Linked DNA regions of Homo sapiens: region 2 is linked to region 1. The links are contacts of gene promoters, found by promoter capture Hi-C in human tissues and cell types (Jung and others, 2019). All regions are on one chromosome and are shown on one strand. The core of a region is centred on a gene start or on the middle of the fragment in contact, and the rest is flanking DNA. Distances in the headings are between cores, read along the strand shown.

What was found. Contacts are between HindIII fragments. The study calls those that stand out against the background at their distance.
Region 2: a fragment that was not itself captured here is called in contact with the fragment with the promoter of SLC45A1 in region 1 in 2 of the 25 tissues and cell types used here (IMR-90 fibroblasts and aorta).

Annotation. Positions count from the first base shown.
Region 1 is chr1:8,315,918-8,322,185 of GRCh38, forward strand. It overlaps SLC45A1 (solute carrier family 45 member 1), which reads left to right and starts at 2,197. Exons shown (of 9, transcript NM_001080397.3): 1 at 2,197-2,269. RefSeq lists a silencer at 2,027-2,306. The HindIII fragment of the contact is 6,823 bases long and covers 1-6,019 here.
Region 2 is chr1:8,363,416-8,369,622 of GRCh38, forward strand. It overlaps RERE (arginine-glutamic acid dipeptide repeats), which reads right to left. Exons shown (of 23, transcript NM_001042681.2): 13 at 2,397-2,559; 14 at 1,331-1,423; 15 at 641-840. Among named protein-coding and RNA genes, the nearest start is that of SLC45A1, 48 kb to the left of the region's middle. RefSeq lists enhancers at 1,246-2,216, 4,042-4,542, 6,146-6,207 and a silencer at 3,925-4,094. The HindIII fragment of the contact is 5,449 bases long and covers 1-4,063 here.

The DNA of each region.
Region 1 (6,268 bases), core at 947-3,446:
CTGTTACCCTGTTATAGAGATAAAAGAAGCCAGAACCAGCCCCCTCCAGTGGCTCCTTCTCTTCAGCCTGGGCAGGATCTGTTGAAATTCCCATGGTGTCCTCTGGGGCCCTCTGCCCTGCGCCTCTCCCTGGCAGTGCGAGGTCCACAGTTCACCTGCAATTAGCTCCCATGTGCAGGGGACTCATAAAGGAGCATCTTTGAGCTCCAGACCCAAGTGTCTGGTGGCCTAGAGGCTGCGAAGGCCCTCAAGCTCAGCATATCCCAAAGCAAACCTATGGCATTCACTCCAGCACACACCTGCTTTGGCCTCCATGAATCCACTCTCTTCCCTCATCGCTCAAGCTAGAAACTTCTTAGCACCACCCTCGCTGTTCCTGTACCCCCCCACCTTCAGTCAATCATGGAGTCCTAAGTCCCCGGCCAGTCCATCACCTCTCTCCCTCTACCAACACCCCCAACTCTCCCACCTGTGCCACCCGGTACGCCCATGTGGTCCCCTGGTTCCCTCCAATCTGTTTTCACTCTGAGCTTTATGATCTTTGCTAACTGTGAATAGGATTCATGCCATCCACTCCCCTACATAAAACCTTTCTAGGCTTCTCTTTGCTCTTAGAAACTGGCAACTGCCTAAGAGGCCACACCTGGGCCTGTCCCACCTCCCCAGCCCTCACCTCCTTCCCAGGCCTCTGCATCCCTGTCCCCCTCCACTTCCTTTGCAGTGTGCCTCCAGGCCCTCTCCCCTCCGGAGCTCTGCCAGTGCAGAGCTCTCTGAGCCCTCTGTGTGGGACATGCTGTTCTCTCTACTTGGCCTGGTAGGGCTCCTTGAGGAGCCCTCGACCCTCCCAATGGGGTGGAATCCGCCGCGGTAAACTTCCACAGGGCCCCGTGCCCCCACTCTGCAGCGCTTCCCTGGGGTTATTATTCCACTACCAGCTGCATAATTATTTCATCCGTAATTATTGGACTCAGCCCAGCTCACTTCTGCCCCTGGCCTTTGCACTTGCTCTTCCCAGTGCCTGGCGTGACCTTCCCCACACGTCAGTCTGGCTGGCCCCCCTAGCTCCTCAGGTCCTTCTTTTCTTTTTGAGATGGAGTCTCACTCTGTGGCCCAGGCTGGAGTGCAGTGGCACGATCTCAGCTCACTGCAACCCCTGCCTCCCAGGTTCAAGCGATTCTCCTGCCTCAGCTGAGTAGCTGAGATTACAGGCACCCAGCACCACGTGTGGCTAATTTTTATATTTTTAGTAGAGATGGGGGTTTTGCCATGTTGGCCAGGCTGGTCTCGAACTCCAGACCTCAGGTGATCTGCCCCTCTCGGCCTCCCAGAGCGCAGGGATTACAGGTGTGAGCCACCGTGCCCGGCCTGCTCCGCAAATCCTCCTTCTAGTGTCACCTTCCAGGTGAGGACTCGCCAACAACCTGATAGAAACCTGCAAGGCCAGCGCCTCTGCAGCCCCACACTCCCTAACCCCTTCTCTAGGGCATTGCCATCTTCTGACATACCATTTATTTTATGTCTTGTTTAATGTGTGTGTGTCTCTCTCTTAAATGTCATGCAGCCGGGTGCGGTGGCTCACACCTGTACTTTGGGAGGCCGAGGCAGAAGGATCACTTGAGCCCAGGAGTCGAGACCAGCCTGGGCAACATAGCAAGGCCCTGCCTCTCTGTATTTTAAAAAATGAAGTAAATAATAAATACATAAAGTATTTATGTATTTACTTACATTACAAAGTTCCCCCAGGGGCGGGAACTTTGCCTTGTTCTTGCGGCATCCCCAGTGCCTTGGACAGCTCCGGGCCCAGAGTCGCGACGCCTCCAGCAGGCCCGGCTGCCCCACTGCGCACATGGGCACAGGCTTGGCACACGCACTGCGGCATTCACGTATCCGCGAACACATGGGTATCTATTTATACATGAAGACACGAAAATGTATTTATTTCTTTTAAAATCAGAAGAAAACGGTGAGAACTGTGAGGCCGGGGGGACGTTTTCCTCCGGGATCCTGGCAGATCCTGCAGACCGCGCCGTCGTGCGCGAAGCACCGGGACGGGCCTCCCGCGGGAAGGGCCCAGGAGGACACCGGGCTCCCCTCCCGCCCGCGGGGCCCCAGACGCGGCGCCGCTTTAAGGCTCCGGGCCCCGCGCGGATGCGGAGGCTGCGGCCGTGACGTCAGCGCCCCGCCCCGGGTGATGCTGCAGCAGCCGGGACCGCGGCCGGGCAGGCAGCAGCCCAGCGGGGACAGGGATGCCTGCCGTCTCCACCCACAGGTACCACCGTCTCCTCCGCGCCCTCCGCCCGCTCTCTGGCTCCGTGCCTGCCGGGGCGCCGCGCCCTGGGCCCCGGGGTAGTCAGGGCGCCGAGACCGGGACCCGAGGCCGGCACGGAGACCTTTGTTCCTCGTGGAAGTCTCATGAATTGCAGAGTCCACGGAGCTCCCCCGTCTCGCCCCTCCGAGGGCAGGAGCCTCGGGCCCAGGGGAGGGTGCCGGCCAGATGGCAGGTGCTCTCATCCTTGCTGGCAAGGGGAGGAGACCCCGGCCTTGGCCCCAGCTCCTGATGCGCTCCTTGAGCCGGAGGCCTGGTCCCTAGTCACCTGGGCAGGTGTCATCCGCTCCCGGCTCACCTCTTGCGTGGGGCTGAGCCCTCTTGTTGACCAGGGGCCTGGCAACGCCCCTCAGCATCCCAGGGTTACTTAGCGAGGGCACCGAGGACTCCCCTTTCCCGAGCGAGTCAGCACCAAGGGGAACGCGCTGAGGTGGAAGCCGTTCAGCTCCTTCTGCCCTCGACAATCAGCAACTTCTCTAATTATTTCTAGAGTGACAGCCGTGCATGTTTTTCAGCTCTTACAGGGAAGCAGAGTCAGGGGCGGAGGAAAGCCACGTTCAGGCTGCACCTGGCCTGGGCTTTTGGGAAAAGTTGGCCCTGGAGTAGGGGTCAAGCTGCCGGAGATGCAAAGTGGGAAACGGCCACGATTCAGTAACTAGCCTATTAAGTGCACCCTCCCAAGTCCGTAGAGCACCTTCCTGGTCCTGGAGGACCTCACTGAAGAATTTTGAGAATGGGTAGAAAGAAGCATGAGGGGTCGGGCGCGGTGGCTCATGCCTGTAATCCCAGCACTTTGGGAGGCTGAGTCGGGTGGATCACCTGAGGTCAGGAGTTCAAGACCAGCCTGGCCAACATGGTGAAACCCCATCTCTACTAAAAATACAAAATTAGCCGGGCGTGGTGGCACATGCCTGTAATCCCAGCTACTTGGGAAGCTGAGGCAGGAGAATCGCTTGAACCCAGGAGGCGGAGGTTGCAGTGAACCCAGATCATGCCACTGCACTCTAGTCTGGGCGATAGAGTGAGACTCCGTCTCAAATAAACAAATAAGCAAATACGCCCTAGGAAGGGAGGTGGCCCAAGGCAACCCCGTGGGGGGAGCTCATTTTCATAACGAGAAGAAAGAAATGAGGAAATGGTTTCCGCTCGTAGTAGGATCATTGTAAGCATTCAAACTACATTGACATTGATTACTTTTATTAATCATTTGCCGCTTAAACTTCCCACAACACAGTTTGAGGAATCTGTTACTTTAAGCATCCTCTGTACTCTGGAAGCACAGTGGACCCCTTGCATAGCCTTCGGGGGATCCAGGGAGATGAGTGGATTTCCTTTTGACCGAGTAAATGGTCATATGGTACAGTAAAGATGGTCTGGCGAATGTTTGTATTTGTGCATGAAAATTAGATTTTATGATCTTAAATTCCACTTTCACCCATTTTTATGGGAACCTTAAAAATGGATTTTTGTTGTTGTTGTTGTTGTTTTTTGAGACAAGAGTCTCACTCTGTTGCCCAGGCTGGAGTGCAGTGGTGCGATCTCAGCTCGCTACAACCTCCACCTCCTGGGTTCAAGCGATTCTCCTGCCTCAGCCTCCGGAGTAGCTGGGATTACAGGCACTCGCCACCATGCCCAGCTAATTTTTTGTATTTTTAGTAGAGACGGGGTTTCTCCATGTTGGCCAGGCTGGTCTCGAACTCCTGAGCTCAGGTGATCCACCCACCTCGGCCTCCCAAAGTGCTGGCATTACAGGCGTCAGCCACTGTGCCCGGTCTCAAAAATGAGTTTCTAAAATTCTTCTTATGATAAACATTTGTGAACAGTTTTTACTAAATGTAGTTTTAATAAAAATGGTAATGCTGATCCCCAGATTTGAAGATGAATCCTTAGTAAAGACTTCTTCTGAGCCAGGATTAAGCTAGGTTTAATTCTGGTTCAGATGCTAGAGAGAAGTTCATTGAGTGTGTGAGGATCTCCCTTCTGCTAGGACAGGCTGCAGTGGGGTGTGGCGGAGGTGGCAGTAGAGTTGTCCTCTTGCAGGTAGAGAAGTGGGCCGTCTACATAGTCCACTTTAAATAAGGTCAAAGAGGCTCCTCTTTTCAAAAAGACACTTCAGGGGCTGGGAATGGTGGCTCATGCCTGTAATTCCAACACTTTGGGAAGCCAAGGCAGGTGGATCACTTGAGCCCAGGAGTTTGAGGCCAGCCTGGGCAACATGGCGAAACCCCATCTCTACAAAAAAATACAAGAATTAGCCTGGTGTGGTGGTGTGCACCTGTAGTTCCAGCTATTTGGGAGGCTGAGGTGAGAGGATCACCTGAGCCCAGGGAGGTTGAGGCTGCACTGAGCGATGATGACTGCACTCCAGCCTGGGCTAGATAGAGGGAGACTCTGTCTGTCTGTCTGTCTGTCTGTCTCTCTCTCTCTCTCTCTGTTTCTCTCTCTCTCTACACACACACACACACACACACACACACACACACACACACACCTGCCATATGCTGTTTAAAGCTGAAGTTTTTCCAAACTGGGCCACAGTTCTTCATTCCAAATTTAAAGGGAAGGTTTCTAATGCACTTAAGTTCACATTATGGTTAAAATGCTGATTAGAAAGAGTGGGAGATATGCCTGTGTGCCTGCAGGTGGGGAGAGGCTGGGCAGAGGGACAGAAAGGGAGATGGCCACTGAGAGCATACGTGGGGCTGTGACCTTTGGGCGGAGTCCGATCCAACCGTCCACCTCACCTGTGCTGGGTCTCGCCTCTGACTCTGAAGGAGATGGTCTTACACAGTGTTGGAACTGGCGCTCTATTTCTGTGCTTTTGATGAATGAAGCTCCAGGGGATGCTAACTGCTGCTTGGGGTTTTGAAAGGAAGACCTGCCAATCACCAGGTTTTACCATGCAGAAGTGCTTGAGCTAGGCCAGTGAGGAACATAAATAAGCTTAGCTTCTTAAACATGTTAATCTTGATTTACTCCTTATAAATGAATTCTATTTCAAATGAAGTATTACTTGTCTACATGGTTCTTAGGTTCATCTGTTCTCTTCCTACAGGAAAGCGTGGTATTTTCCAAAGCCACAGGATAAGTCTTTTATAGAAGTGACAGGAGACTCTGTCTCTGCTATATCACTCCCTGTCACCTTGGAATAAAACCCATCTCTTAGCAAGGCTTCAAGGCCCTCCATGATTAGCTAAGACCTTCCTGAGGGCTTCATCTCTCACCCCACCCCCACTGTGCCCAACTGTTACTCATATCTGTCTTTTACCCAATGATTCTACCCCCCAGGAAGGCCCTTTCCTCCACCTTTTTACCTAACTCAAGGACAAGAACTGTGTCTTTTATCTCTCTTATCTCAGTGTCTTGGTACTCAGTACTCAGATGAATTGGAGGCTGGGTAGGTGAGTGGGTGGATGAGTAAATGTTTGGAAGGGGGGATAGGTAGATGGGTGAGTGGAAGGATGGATAGAGGAGTGGGTGGAAGAACGGGTCGGTGGATGTGTGGATAGTTTTTGGATAGACAGATGAATAGATGAATGGAAGAGAGGATGTGTGGAAGGATGGATGGGTAGATGACTGAGTGGAAAGATGGATGAATGGATGTGTGGGTGAGTGGATGGAAGAGTGGCTGGTGGATGAATGGGTGCATGGATGGGTGGGTGGATGGATGGATGGATGGGTGGGTGGGTGGATGGATACGTGGATGGGTGGGCAAGTGGATGGGTGGATGAGTGGATGGGTGGGTGGATGGATGGATGGATGGATGGATGGATGGATGGATGGATGGGTGAGTGGGTGGGTGGGTGGATGGATGGATGGGTGGGTGGGTGGATTGATAGGTACATGGATGGATGGGTGGGTGGGTGAATTGGTGACTGAGTGGGTGGATGGATGGGTGGGTGCGTGGGTCCATAGTTACATGGATGGATGGGTGGGTGGATG
Region 2 (6,207 bases), core at 89-2,588, 47 kb after region 1:
CTGAGTGAGCGGGGGCCGGGCTGCCAGCAGCCTCAACGGCATACAAGGGGCAGAGGAAAGTGGATGGTCCCACCCACCTGCCAGAAGGGGCCATAAGGGAGGCTGAAGGGAAAGACCCTGTCAGTACCCTCAGCCCCAAACCTGGAAAAAGCCTCTCCCAAAGTCCCTGGCACATTTCCAACCTAGGAAACAAAGTCTCTTTATGGGAGGAGCTATGCAGTGAGCAGAAAAATGTATCGGAAGTTTCCAAAACGGGATCAAACATTTAAAAAAAATCACAAACACACTAACACAAAAGAGCCTGCAAGTTTAAAATAGCAGAGATTTGATACAATGGAAGTGACACCACAAGCAGCAGCCTTGGAGAGCAAGAGGGGCCTTGGAGAGCCTGCACTGAGCCAGAAGCTAAGAGCTTGCTACAAAACCCAGAGCAGGATGCCACCCTGGGGCCCCTCGAAGGAGAGAACAGAGAACTCTTCCCAGCCCACAGGCAAGCTACCGCCTCGGGCAAAGCAGCTCCCCTCCAGGACTTTGTCTGGTAAACAAGACTTTCGCTTCCTCCCCCTGGGAGGCTCAAGCCCCCACACATCCCAGGAAACTGAAGAAGTTGCCAGGAGCCCCATGGCCCCAGGGGACTCACCGAGCCCCGACTCCGCCGTGTCCTCATGCTATGCTTCCCACTGAGCCCATCATCCTCTTCCTTGACGGGTTTGAACATAAACGGTGGCGGGTCCACGGGCTTCTCAATGGGCGGGAGCTCACCGTATTTCTTGAAGTGGATGCGACAGTCGGTGCAAAGCAGGATGTTCTCCCGGCCTCCGTGGTGCCAATCTTTGGAGGCTGTGTGAGGGAAGTGGTGGGGGCCAACCTTGGAAACCATCCCTCTCCCTGGGGATGTCTGGGCAGAGGGGCCCTTCTGTGGGCTCTACCCAAACCTGATGCCACCAGCACCATGCAGCCCTGGGCCCCAACACCCCAGGGCTAGTGCTGCCCTGCTCCCCCAAGGCCAGGAGAGGGTTTCAGGGGCATCTGCTGCCCACTTCAACTTGGGGTGCCCAGGAAAAGCTGGCAGCAAGCTCCTGGGAACTACAGTGTCAACCCCCCAATCCCACTCAATCTGTCCTGCCTACCAGTCAGTATTCCATACCGACTGCCAAGCAGAGGAGTAAAGTAAACTAAACATTTCTAACTTTCTCGAATCCCGAAGCACAATGCAAATGTCAAATCAAGTACTGTCCCTGGCAGGTTTCCAGCTGGATGCATGAAATGTTCAGAACATGGAAGTGCTTGTGCCCCCGCCCCGCCCCAGGAGCGTGACGAGGCCACTTACTGGTGGTGAAGCAGTGGCGGCAGGCGTACCCCTTCAGCTCCTGCTCACTGTCCTCACTGTCGAAGTCATCTTCACTGGCTGAACTTAGGTCCACTGGGCGTGGCAGGCACATAGTGGGGGTGGGGGAGACACCATCATGCTCAGCCAAGGCTGGGCCGGTGGGGTGGGGGGGAGGGGGGAACACCTGTGACCTCTGGCCTACTGCAGGTTCTGGCCACCAGTCAGAGCGGCTGGGTGCACAGGCTGAGGTAGGACAGTGTCTGCAAAGGACCACTTCGAGCTCCTCAGTGTCAGTCACCAGGACAGAGGGCCTGTGTGTGAGGCGCCATACCCAAGGGCCTGCCCTGCCACTGATGCCCGTAACGGGTGAGTCTGAACTGGGACAAGCGCGTCCATGCTGCCTCCCTCCCTAATACGCCCAGGCAATCCTGAGAAATTCCAACTTCACCGAGCGCCCCCAACCCGTCCTGCTAGGTGATTTCTAGTCGCCTGCATGCGCAACACCGGCGCCCCTCAGGTTCAGCGTCCCGGGCCAGGACAGAGCTATAAGGCACTTTTGCTACACCCCAGTTTTTTAGGGGTGAGAAGGTGTGGGCTCCAGCATCATTAGATTGTACATCATACTGGGACCAAAAAGAGGATCTTGGTGAAGCAGGAGGAAAAAGAAGAAAGTGTTAATCTGATCTTCTTACAACCAAAAGTGCAATGAGAATTCAAGCAGGACATCAAGTACATCATCTGTCAAATGGAAAACCTTCCCAGGACAAGGCCAAAAACATCCCAGGCCAAGACGTGTATTTTTTGTAAAAACCTAAGATGATGTTGAGTTTATGAGAAATATTTAAATGTACAAATAATGTTTTAAAGTCTCCCTCCTGAATCCTTGTCCTGCTCCCCGCCCCCACCATCGGTCTATGTTTAGGTCAGGCTTCACACATGCACTGGAGCACGGGTGCACACCCCCTCATGCTTCCCGGAGCCATCAGCTCCTACGGGCCCAGAGTGGGACAGGCTGCCCGTGAACAGTCTCCCCTCCGCCCACTGTGATGCCAAGACCCCTACTCACAGAATTCACTGGACGGGGGTCTGGAGGGTGTGTTGACGGGTGTGGACGCGGTGCGAGTCTTAATCCTCCTGAACACGGCCTGCCTGCGGTGCCTACGATGGGCTCGGGAGCTGGCTGCTTCGGGGGTCTTCTTCCAATAGTAATAGAAGGTGATCAGCTCCCCCTGCAGAAGAGAAGGGCTGACTGTGGGGGAGGGCCTGGGGCTTTTCCGTGCCCCACGCACCCTCTCTGCCACAGTGGAAAGCTGGGTGTTTAACAGCTGTGCCAGAGATGAGAATAAAGACCAGTCGCTCCTGGAGTTGGGAGAGGAACTGGGCTTGCCCAAGAAACAGCCACTGAGCTGCCCGTGGACTGCATGAATGGGGCCCGCCTCCTCAGCCCAGCACAGCTTGACTTCCAGACACCAAGAACAAGTACTTGTTGGGTGTCTGCTATGTCAGACCCCACCGCTGTTGTACACATGGGAGGTACACATCATCCACAATGGACGAAAAGGAGAGAAGATTCCTGCCCACGAGGAGCTTACATTCTAGCTGTGTGTGCACGTGAGTCTGTGCATGTGTGTGAACACAACGATGCTTTCTTTACAGTAATGCCAGTGAAATCACACAGGTGTGAGAAGGAAATGCCCGGCCAGTTAGACTCCCCCAGAAACAACCAACCAACCAAAGCAAACTGCCCAGGTGGTGAGGAACCAGGGCCAAACAGAAGGTGGGGAAGAACAGAGACCGCATGCTCAGGAAACTGCTCCACAGCCTCCACCTGGCTCCATCTGAAGGCCCACATCTGACATGCCGGCACGACGTCCAGAGGCAAGGACTGGGCTTGGCAAAGAAAGACTACAAGAGGACAGACACACAGTGGTGCTGATGCAAAGGTGAAATATCACACACCACAAGGTCAGGCTTCTTTTCATGGCCCAGCAGAAACAAAAGCAAGATACCTTTTTGGAAATATAGCAAATGTAAGCTTTTTAAAGAAAGGGCACTTTGGGCACCCCCAGCCCTCAGGGCGCTGCAGGCTGCCATCTCACCCTACACACAAAAGACGATTTCTTAAACATCCCAAGATAAAGTCTCTTTACCTAGAACTGAAAAAAAAAAACAAAAAAAAAAAACAAAAAAAAAAAACCCAAAAAACAAACACAGCCAAGTGAGAGAGCACAGATCACTTGGTTTCCCTCTAATTAAATCAACACTGTAGAAAGTCTATTAGCTTGGCGACTAGATGCTGGGAGTTGTCTTGGAGGTACCTGCACCCTCACTTTGTCTCATCAAACACTGTCTTGTGAATGGAGGAGGCAAAAAGAGAGAGGGGAAAGTGAGAGAGGGGGATGGAAAGACTAGTGTTGGAAGGACTAAAATAGACAAACCAAACAAAGACATGTAGCTGCCACATGACAAACTCACCCATCAGACCAGATTTCATCCAAAACACCCCCAGAGGAAATGGCCTCAGAACACAGTGACAAGAGAGGTGGGCAGATTTTAGGTGGTGGGGTGGCTTCCGCAAGGCAGGGGATGCCGTGCCTTGAGTACTTGACTGCCCACAGCTGCATCTTATGCCTGGGCATTTTTGTAAGAAGTGGGACCACGGCTGCGGTCCCTAAAGGAGGGCTGGAATGCCTTGAAGGAGGGCTGACTGGCCTATAAAGCCCATCACATGTATCTCCTGGAGCACTGGACGTGTCTCAACCTCCCCAAGCACTTAACACTTAACAAATTACTCCTGATCACCAATACCTAGCAGATGAAGCATAACCCCAGGCCAGCAGGGCCAGGGAGCCATCTCGGGACAAGCACACTCATGTCCCTACACGTATGTGCATGTGCCCACCCCTCGGTTCCATGAGATGGTAACTGAATGATAAGGAGAAATGCAGATACTGCCATTGGAATTTCTGACTGGCTCCTCTCCCCCATGCTAGTCTAGGAATGCGAGCTACAACTGTCCCAGCGGGCATGAGCATCCTGGCCCCTAAGGTCATGATCTGTGAACCTCCTAGCTCTTTTCACTTCCTGCTTTCCAGACTTGGAAATGCATTTATCTATACTGATCCTTGGGTGTTGGCTAGACGGAAAAGATTCGTAAATCCCACTAGGGGGTTACAAGATCACTGCTGACATAAACGCTGACTTGTGTCTGGTTTTCCTCTGAGAAAATATGGAAGAGAAATCAAGGCAGGGAGCAGTCACACTCCAAATGCTCTGTCCAAGGTCATGCTTCATGAGCTCAAAAGGGCAACTGGTGCTGTGATAAGTCACAGCTCAAATTCCAGAGCTTGAAAGAAGAATGAGAAAAAACTCACAGTGGTTCCTTCTACTTCCTCAGTCCAAGTCATTTTAGGGGCTACTGAATGATAAAAGCTTGGGATGTGGCCAGGTGCGGTGGCTCACGCCTGTAATCCTAGCACTTTGGGAGGCTGAGGCAGGCGGATCACCTGAGGTCAGGAGATTGAGACCATCCTGGCTAACATGGTGAAACCCTGTCTCTACTAAAAAAAATACAAAAAATTAGCTGGGCCTGGTGGCAGATGCCTGTATTTCCAGCTACTCGGGAGTCTGAGACAGGAGAATGGCGTGAACCCGGGAAGCGGAGCTTGCAGTGAGCCGAGATCGTGCCACTGCACTCCAGCCTGGGCGACAGAGTGAGACTCTGTCTCAAAGAAAAAGAAAAAAAAAAAAAAAAGCTTGGGATGTAAGAAGAAATGCAAAGCTATACGAGACAAAAGGGACCAAAAACGGGAGAGAAAAATCGAGTGAGAAGGTGGTACCTGAGCCTCTGCCATGCCTTCAAGTCTTACCTGAAGGCTGTTAAAAAGCAGCAACCTGACTTTTCTAAATAGCATTTGTCTATAATGCAATATTGCTACACACAGTTATAATCAATTATTTCTATTTATCAAATATATATGTTTTGAAATGGCTTTAAAAGATAGTAACCTGCAGATCCCAGGTTAAGGGAAGAAGCCAGGCGCAGCAGTTTACGCCTGTAATACCAGTACTTTGGGAGGCTGAGGCAGGAGGATCACTTGAGGCCAGGAGTTCAAGACCAGCCTGGGCAACATAGTGAGATTTAGTCCCCCACCTCAAAAAAAAAAAAAATTATCTGGGCATGGTGGTGTGCACCGGCAGTCCCAGCTACTTGGGAGATCAAGGCAGGAGGATTGCTTGAGGCCAGGAGCTTAAGACAAGCCTGGGCCCTACAGGCCCAATCTCTACAAAAAAGTTTAAAAAATTAGCCCAGTGTGCTGGTGTGTGCCTGTAATAATACCAGCTATTCAGGAAGCTGAGACAAGAGGATCACTTGAGCCCAGGAGGCTGAGGCTGCAGTGAGCTACAAATGTGCCACCGCACTCCAGCCTGGGGGACAGGGCGAGAGGCCATCTCTTTAAAAAAAATAAAAGAACACTTAAAAACAAGAAGCCAGAGTTCAGTGAGGTAAGAAACTGCCCCATGCCAGACAGAAAAAAGGCTTAACTTTCAAACCTTTGCTCCTGGCTTCACTGATCTCTGCCAACAAGTGAAAAAAATCAAGACCCAAAAGAAAGAAATCTAACATTGAAATCAACATCAACTTTTTGTTGACACTTAAAGAAGAAGTAGTCCAGAACAGATTTCACCATCTGAGTGCCAAGGATGAAAATGACCAGGCAACTGGTTTCTCTTCAAATCGAATAAATCTTTCGCCTTTTACTAAAAAAAAAAAAAAAAAAAAAAAAAAAAAGAAGAAAAGAAAATGACCAGGCAGGAAGGACTGTCCTCCACAGCAGTGAAGTCACAGGTGGTAAGAACGGTAAACTTACAATTCA